2 separate regions of the Homo sapiens genome follow, and region 1 is linked to region 2. The links are contacts of gene promoters, found by promoter capture Hi-C in human tissues and cell types (Jung and others, 2019). All regions are on one chromosome and are shown on one strand. Each heading gives the region's core, a stretch centred on a gene start or on the middle of the fragment in contact. The rest is flanking DNA. Distances are from core to core; before and after follow the strand shown.

Region 1 (4,409 bases), core at 1,714-4,213, 140 kb before region 2:
GGCGTGAGCCACCGCGCCTGGCCTATTTTGCTCGGTTATAATCACTCCAAAACCTAGTAGCCCAAAACCATAAACATGTATTATCTCACACAGTGTCCACAGGTTAAGAATCTGAAAGTGGCTTGGTTGGGTGGTACTGGCTGAGGGACTCTCGTGAGGCTGCAGTCAAGATTCCAGCAGGGGCCGCTGTATTCTGACGGCTTGGCTGGTGCTGGAGGACCCATTTCCAAGTTGGTTTATTCACAGGGCTGGCAAGTTAGTGCTGAATGTTGGCAGGAGGCTTTAGCGCCTCACCATGAGGCCTGTCCACAGGGCTGCTTGAGTGTCTTCACAACATGGTGTCCGGGAGGCCACGTGACTCTGCAGGCACATCCAGGGGCAAGGGTGCAGGCGCAGAAGAAGCAGAAAGTGAGTCAGAAGTAACCAGAATGGTGTTTTCCCAGTGGATGTGACCAAAGCAGAGAGGATTGGGGGTTAAGAGGGCTTCCAGGGCCTCAAACTGGGCAAGGTGAGTACACGTGGGAGGTGAAGGAGGGTGGGACGGAGGCAAGTGTGTGGGGCAGGTGGAGAGTGGGGAGGGAGCCAGCAGCAGTGCATTGCTGGTCCTGGAGGATTGAAGACCCCTTGGACCCAGAGCCATTGGGAGAATAAGGCAGGAAAATGAAAGGTGTTCATGTGCTCTAACTACCGTAAGTTATTTCTAGGAACTCCCACAATCCAGAATGTTCTGGGAGGGGCCATACCACCCACACAGCAAAGATGAAGGAAAGAAAATTGACTAAGTTAACGTCTGGTGCCTACAGCCATGTAGACACCAGTGGATTCCAACAGCCTGAGTGGATCTCTTGGGTGTCACACACACAGCTGTTTACACACTCTCCAACACAAACCACAGTCCCAGGTGTTATCACTCAGATGTCACACACTTTTGTCCAGGCGTCCTGTTTGTGACTTCACATGATTGAGGGGTTAAATCCTTCCAGGAGTGGGTGGGGTAGGACCATGGGGTTGCTGCCTCAGTCCCTCAACTTATCAGCTGACCTTGGCATCCCACTCCCCACCTGGTGGTGACTGTCCTGTGTCCTCATAAGGAAGGTGTATGCTCCCTGCACCGATGGGCTTCTGATAAGATCCAAGGTCATATTCTGGGCGTCGATAATCACGTTGCCAAGAACTGTGGCTTCCTGGTGCACCTCCCTGAAGTCACTGATCACATGACATCCCTTCCCAGCCACCCCTAGTCCTCCCATGCTGAACCTCCTCACCAGCAGCACAAGAGATGGTGGTGCCAGCAAAATGGGGTTGTGAGCAGGAAGGAGGCTGCTCTGAGAGGGGTCTGTGAAATCACACACACACACATGCACGTGCACACACACACACACACACACACACGCTCTGCCCTGATCCAGCCCCCAAGCTCTGCAGGCATCTTTGAGCCCATCCATGGGCTGCAACCTGCGAGGCAGAGTCAAGGCAGGATAGGCCATGGGAGGGTGGGAGAAGTCCCAGCTCAAGTCCCTAGGGACCCCCCCAGCCCCTCCTGGCTCTCCGTGAGGTCTGGAAGAGGCTCAGTATGTGTATGGCATACTTGGGGTCTCACTTCCCTCTCAGCCCTTGCAAATGCTGGAACACCTTTTCAGCCTTGGAGGACCCCCTCAGATGTTCCCTCCTAGTCAGAACTCCTCACTCTTTCACTGGGAGCATGGTGATCCTCCCTCTACAGGGCACTTACCACATGGCTGAACCTAAAGCCTGTCTGCCTCGCCTGCTGGATTTTGCTTCCCCACAGCCTTGCATGGCTCTAGTATAGCACAGAATGAACAGTGCTTGCATGTATAAAGGAAGGAATGAATAAGTGAATGGAGGGATGGGTGGATGGATAAATAGGAGGGTGGATGACGGAGTCCAGGCAGAGCCAGGGGATAGAAGAGGAAGTCACCTCGCCAGGGAGGCATGGGCTTCCCCTGCTGCCTCCTCTGGGACAGCCTCCCTTCCCAGGACTCCCATTCCTCGTATCGCTGGGCTCCCTTCAGGATAGACACAGAGAGTTCTTCTGGGTCCTCCTTCTTCCTTTAGCTCTAGGCCTTACATTTTCCAGAGTCAGATGAGGGATGAGTAGTTAAAATTGATGAGCTCCCACTACATGTCAGACACTGCACTAGCTATTTCTACAGATGCCATATTGTTTAATGAAAATGACACCATAGCCGGCACGGTGGCTCACTCCTGTCATCCCAGCACTTTGGGAGGCTGAGGCGGGTGATCACCTGAGATCAGGAGTTTGAGACCAGCCTGGCCAACATGGTGAAACCCCATCTCTACTAAAAATACAAAAATTAGCTGGACATGGTGGTGCACACCCGTAATCCCAGCTACTCGGGAGGCCGATGCAGGAGAATCACTTGAGCCCGGGAGGTGGAGGTTGCAGTGAGCCGAGATCACACCACTGGACTCCAGCCTGGGTGTCAGTGGAAGACACAGTCTAGAAAAAAAAAAAAGAAAACAGGTGTAGAGAAGCTGAGTGGATTGCCCAAGGTCACACAGCTTACGTCCAGCAAGAAGGGGGATCTCAACTCAAAATCTGCTCAGGCAGGTAGGGCTGGGTATGCTGTAGATCGGCTGCCTTGGAGGGAGGCAGAGGCAGTGAGGGTGGGCAGTGGGCACGGCCCTGCTGTGAACACAGGAGCTCTGAGTTCCAGCCCTGGCTTGGCCTCTGTTTTCCTGGGACACCCTGGATGAGCCCCTTCCCTCTCGGCTTCAGTGTCCCTGGGTGACCTTGCTGCCCTTGGAGAGCCATTCCAGGCAAATGGTGCAGGATGTGGTGGATGTGGATGGCTCCTGGCTCTCACTGCGGGATGTTCCCTCACTCTCCCTGCCAGCTGGGGGTCAAAGGGCAGTGCCACCCATGGGGTAATGTTTAACCAGGCACAACACCCCCTCTATAGGGAATAACCTATAGACCAGTCCTACCCCAGCTGGCCAAGAGTCCGCAGGATGCAGTGGACGAAGGTGTTGGGGCTGGGGCTGGGGGCTGCTGCCCTCTTGGGGCTGGGGATCATCCTCGGCCACTTTGCCATCCCCAAAAAAGCCAACTCACTGGCCCCCCAGGACCTGGACCTGGAGATCCTGGAGACCGTCATGGGGCAGCTGGATGCCCACAGGATCCGGGAGAACCTCAGGTGAGAAGTGGGGCCATCTGCTCCTCCGTTTGCCAGAGGCCCCCTCCCTGATGCTGGCCCTGCCCCTCCCTCTGCCCACCCTGCAGAGAACTCTCCAGGGAGCCACACCTGGCCTCCAGCCCTCGGGATGAGGACCTGGTGCAGCTGCTGCTGCAGCGCTGGAAGGACCCAGAGTCAGGCCTGGACTCGGCCGAGGCCTCCACGTACGAAGTGCTGCTGTCCTTCCCTAGCCAGGAGCAGCCCAACGTCGTGGACATCGGTGAGGTCCTGCCCAGTCTTGGGAATGCCCGGGGGTGGGGAGCTGCTGGGCCCAGCCATGATACTGCCACCCCTCCAACAGTGGGCCCCACTGGGGGCATCATCCACTCCTGCCACCGGACTGAGGAGAACGTGACCGGGGAGCAAGGGGGGCCAGATGTGGTACAACCCTATGCTGCCTATGCTCCTTCTGGAACCCCACAGGTGGGCCCAGAACCCCCCCTACTGCTCTGGCCCAGCTCCCTTGGTTCCACCCAGGGTTCTCCCCACCCTGACCCAGGGAACGTGCCTCAACTGGGGCACAGCGCGCCCTCCGGAATTTACTCACCGGGACACTCCATCGCTGCTCCTTTCCTCCATCAGTCATTCAACAAACACTAGTGGCTCTGCTCAAGGCCAGGTCTGTTACAGGGCACCCAGACATGGAGGAAATGAGGGGTGACTGTTCTTGGGGAGCTTACAAGCTCTGGGTGAGGTGGGGGAACAGAATCTAAATTCTCCCTCCTGCCATGCAAACTTCCACCCCCCTTCCCCACCCACACTTCGCTGGGCCCAGCTCTAAGGATCACCCCCTCTTGGGACTAGGGCCTCCTCGTCTATGCCAACCGGGGCGCGGAAGAAGACTTTAAGGAGCTACAGACTCAGGGCATCAAACTTGAAGGCACCATTGCCCTGACTCGATATGGGGGTGTAGGGCGTGGGGCCAAGGTGAGTGGCAGTCCCCCAGTGCAGGAGGCCTCGGTGAGGAAGGGGCTGGGCAGTGGACTGGAGGAAGTGAGGGGAAGGGGAAGGAGAAGAGGCAGTGTTGAGTGGGGAACCAAGCCCCAGGGTGGGGCAGGAAAGGCAAGGTGTTTTCGGGTTGTCCCACCAATGGGCTGTGTGGCCTCGGATGCCTCCCTGACCCTCTCTGAGCTGTAGGAAATAAAGGGGTTGAGTACAATTTTCAGGTTTGGTATTCCAGAAGTCTAAGTC
Region 2 (4,373 bases), core at 700-3,199:
TGTGTTAGCCAGGGTGGTCTCGATTTCCTGACCTCATGATCCACCCGCCTTGGCCTCCCAAAGTGCTGGGATTACAGGCATGAGCCACCGTGCCTGGCCCATAAGCACTTTCTGAATGGCTGTCCTATCAGCCTGCCTCCCTGAATGGAGCCTGCTCCTTCCAGGTAATGAACTATCTCCACTTACTAACCCAACCCCAGTTACATAGGATAAAACTGAGGGTCACAAGAGGAGAAGAAACCACCCATGGGTGGGACTGGAATACAGGTCCCTGCCCGGTGGGCCAGGGCGGTTGCCCTTGCTTCAGGCTGAGTTTTGGCATTAGAATGTAAGAGTCCAGCTCCCAAGTAAGATTAAAATAGAAACACAGGCTAGGTGGGGTAGCTCACACCTGTAATCCCAGCTACTCAGGAATTCCTTGAACCCAGGAGCCAGAGGTTGCGTGAGAGGAGACTGCACCACTGCACTCCAGCCTGGGCAACAGAGCAAGACTCTGTCTCAAAAAAAATAAATAAAATAGAAACATAGGCCGGGCACGGTGGCTCGTGCCTGTAATCCCAACACTTTGGGAGGCCAAGGCAGGCTGATCACCTAAGGTCAGGAGTTCGAGACCAGCCTGCCCAACACGGTAATTAGCTGGGTGCGGTGGTGCATGCCTGTAATCCCAGCTACTCTGGGAGGCCAAGGCAGCAGAATCATTTGAACCCAGGAGGCAGAGGTTGCAGTGAGCCAAGATTGTGCCACTGCACTCCAGCCTAGGTGACAGAGAGAGTCTGTCTCAAAAAGAAAAGAAAAGAAACATAATTACCTATGGCTGTTCCTGAAGTCGCCCATGATGTAAGAGGTTTTGTGTGGCTGCCCCCTACAGAGCAGCGGTTGGCAAACTTTTTCTGTGAAGGGCCAGAAAATAAATATTTTAGGCTTTGCAGGCCTCTGTCTCAAGTACTGAATTCTGCTCTTGTAGCAAGAAAGCAGCCCGGGGCAGAACTTAAGCAAATGAGCAAGACTGTGTGACACTAAAACGTTATGTATAAACACTGGAATGTGAATTTCATATGATTTTTCACATGCCATGAAAAGTTCATTCTTCTTTTGATTTTTCCCCTAACCATTTAAAAGACATAAAAACCATACTTAGCTCAAAGGCCGTACAAAAACAATGCCCCCCTGCTTAAAGGAGGCAGAATCCATTCTTTGATTTTAGGACTAGAGATATGAAAAGCTATTATTATTTCAGAGAGGTGCCTAAGGCCTGACCGACGGCAGAGAGAAGGGAGGGTCAGTTAATCTCCCTCTGAGCATTCCGGGGTGAGGAGGGGAAAAAAGACCTTCCTTGGTGATGGATTCAGAGCCCTTATTTATTTTTGTTTGTTTTTGAGGCAGGGTCTTTCTCGTATCTTAATCTGTTTTCTTACCTGTAAAGCGGTGGCAATAATCCCTACCTTGAGCGATTATTAAGAGGGCTCAATGAGATAAAGGATGGTAAAAGATTTTGCAAAATGCGAATGTTTACTCACTTAATTGTTTCCACAGATGCGCGCTTAAGATCGCGCACTGAGTTTACTCCTCTGGGGAAGGCTTCTACGAAGTTTGATGGGACACTGTCCCTTTAAATCCTCCCCAACCACTTAAAGTGGTTGGACGAATCAGCACATGCGCATTCCTTTGAGGGGCCGGCACCTGGAGCAACAGCCTTCCCAGAGCCTGTAGAGGGGAGGTTAAAGGTCCTCCCACACAGTACTTTACGCAAGCGTAAATCATGATTGAGAGCCCTATATCATGCAGAGAGCCCAGTCCCTTTTTCGCGCCCGAAGGCTCCGCCCCGCGCAGCCAATCAGTAGGCCTCGCCCTTTGCAATAGCCAATGACAGTGAGCGTAGGGGGCGTGGCTGGGCGTCCGGAGGCGCGGCCTGGCGCCTAGAGAAGCGGCGGGGCGAGCCGGGGGCTCTAGTGAACAGCGGAGCCGGACGGGGATCGCCGGCGGGCGGCAAGCGGAGGCGGCCCAGGCCCGGCGGTCTCCGAGATGTCACGATGGCTGTGGCCATGGTCAAACTGTGTGAAAGAGCGGGTCTGCCGCTACTTGCTGCACCACTACTTAGGTCACTTCTTCCAAGAGCACCTCAGCCTGGACCAGCTCAGCCTCGATCTGTACAAGGGCAGCGTTGCCCTGCGAGACATCCACCTGGAAATCTGGGTGAGGAGCCAGGCCCGAGTCCAGGAAGGTGCGGAGGGTGGGAGCGCAGCGACCTGAGGCTCCCTGCGGCAGGATCGGGCTGGGGGATCAGGCACCGGGCGTAGAGAGGCCAGGGGAATCTTGCCCTCTCCAGGCGTCAGAGGCACCCCGGCTGGCCTCTTCAGTTCCTTACCAGAGCCAGAAACTGAGCGGGAAGGGGTTTCTGTCTCCACGGGAGGAGAAACTGAGGCTGGAGAGGGCAAGATCACCTGTCTGGAGAATGCAAGACAAACTCGTCGAGTTTGGGGGCTGAGTTAAGGAGGTTGGCTCTCGGGCTGAGGAGGGGCTGGGGAGGGAGCGTAGGAACTGAGCTGGGCCAGGGCAGTGACAGACTTGGGCCTGCGCAGCTGGTGGGGGAAGCTGGTAGGGGTCCGGAGCCCTGGCGAGGACACCTGTGGATCATGTGCCCTGACCTCTTGACCCCACGGTCCTGAGCCCGTAGGTGGGATCAACAAACCACCGGATGTGTATGTCAACAACCGCGTCAGTACGTCAGTACCAGTGTTGATCAACACCTCGTGTGCCTGGGTCGCTGCCTACTTCCTGCTTTTGGGAGAGTGGGATGGGCCAAGTGGGTGTCTAGGGAGGGACTGGATGGCCCCCACCTACATCTCCCACCGACCCCCCCGGCTCAGTGTCCCTGCCTGGAGGGAGGCCCTGGAGGAAAGGTGGGGAGATCTGGCTTCAAGCCGGGAGGAGGCCAAGGGAGATGCTAGGGAGGCCAAGAGGTGTAAGGTCAGAGGCTTGAGGCTGGGAACGGTGAGGAGCCCTGACTCACAGCTCAGCTGACCTGGGGAGCTTTGAAGGAGCCACCAATTAGAGGCGCGTCCTGGTCGATCCACCAGGTCCAGAGCAGCAGGGGTGGGCATGGAGGCAGGGACTTCTCAGTTTTGTGGCTGGACTCAGGGGGCTGCTAATCTGGGCAGAAGAGCTAGGCTTTGGGGGTAGGCCAGGCCCTGGTGAGCAAATGTGGGGTAGGATAATCGTGGGCCCTGAACTGGGGGCACCCCCCAGTGGCCTGCTGTCTGTGAATTCTGGTGTAGGAAGCCCTCTCTGACCTCTAACCTTAGCCTCAGCCTCTAAGGCCGTCTCTAGGCTGCCCCTTTTTTATTTTTATAGAGACAGGATTTCGCTATGTTGCCCAGGCTAGCCTTGAACCCCTGAAGGGATCCTCCCACCTCAGCCTCCCAAAGTGCTGAGATTATAGGCATGAACCACCATACCCAGCCCTAGGCTTCCCCTTTTTACTTTCAGCTCCAGAAAACGCCCCTACTCCTGTTCCCTGCCCTCTTGTTGGGGATTGAATTGGCTTCTCTAGGGCCCTGGTGGAATGCAGGCGCTTTCTTGATAACCAGCCCCTCCTCCCTCCCAGCTCAGCCTGCAGGCCCCGCCTTGAAGGCCCCCAAAGAAACTGAGTATCTGGGGCCTCTGAAGTGGCATGAAAAGAAAGAGGCCCGCATCCCAGTCTCAGTCCCTGTTGTATACTGGGTGACTAGATTAGTCCTGTCTCTAGGCCTCAGTTTCCCGAGCTGTGGGTCTCTGGGTGAGGAATTTGGACTCCCATCTGCTCTGCCATGTGCTTTTTTATTCTTGGATCCAACCAGTTTACTGAGGCCCTTTCTGGGTGGCACCTGGGGTGACGGGGGAGGCAGGTGGGGTACAGCCCTCCAGGAGCTTCCAGGTTGGCAGGGGTACAACTCCAGCATGGACATTTTAGCCAGGGGCTCAGCCTTGTGCCTCACAGAGAGGCACAGCTACACTAGGTGTTTGGGGTTGGTGGTGGGGGGGGGGGGTCCCATCTGGCATTAGGTCAGCCCCTCTCTTGGACACTGTCCCTTTGAACTCTGCTCATCCAGGGTGAACATGGGTATTCTGGACTCTGCCATACATGTGCCCATGTTGTCCTGTGCCTGCAACACACCACCTTCTACCAGCGCCTATCCCCCCTCCCTTTATTCTTCAGCTTGCCCCTCCTCTGACGGCCCAGGCTGGGTTAGGCGTCTTCCCCACGGCCCCCCCACCAGCCCCCTCACCACCCCCAAGCACCTGCTCACCTCTTGAGTTTCATCCTAGTTGCTCTGAGTCCCTGGCTGGAGCCTAGCTTGGCTGGGGAATGAAGACATTTTATTTACCCATCTAGT

Evidence for each region. Contacts are between HindIII fragments. The study calls those that stand out against the background at their distance.
Region 1: the fragment with the promoter of NAALADL1 here is called in contact with the fragment with the promoter of ATG2A in region 2 in 2 of the 25 tissues and cell types used here (aorta and mesendoderm cells).

Annotation. Positions count from the first base shown.
Region 1 is chr11:65,057,107-65,061,515 of GRCh38, reverse strand. NAALADL1 (N-acetylated alpha-linked acidic dipeptidase like 1) reads left to right here and starts at 2,963. Exons shown (of 18, transcript NM_005468.3): 1 at 2,963-3,179; 2 at 3,266-3,438; 3 at 3,520-3,641; 4 at 4,023-4,145. The coding sequence starts at 2,995. It also overlaps a transcript of CDCA5 not described here. The HindIII fragment of the contact is 22,908 bases long and covers 1-4,409 here.
Region 2 is chr11:64,914,785-64,919,157 of GRCh38, reverse strand. It overlaps ATG2A (autophagy related 2A), which reads left to right and starts at 1,949. Exons shown (of 41, transcript NM_015104.3): 1 at 1,949-2,193. The coding sequence starts at 2,023. It also overlaps a transcript of PPP2R5B not described here. RefSeq lists an enhancer at 1,548-1,677 and a silencer at 1,728-2,037. The HindIII fragment of the contact is 28,686 bases long and covers 1-4,373 here.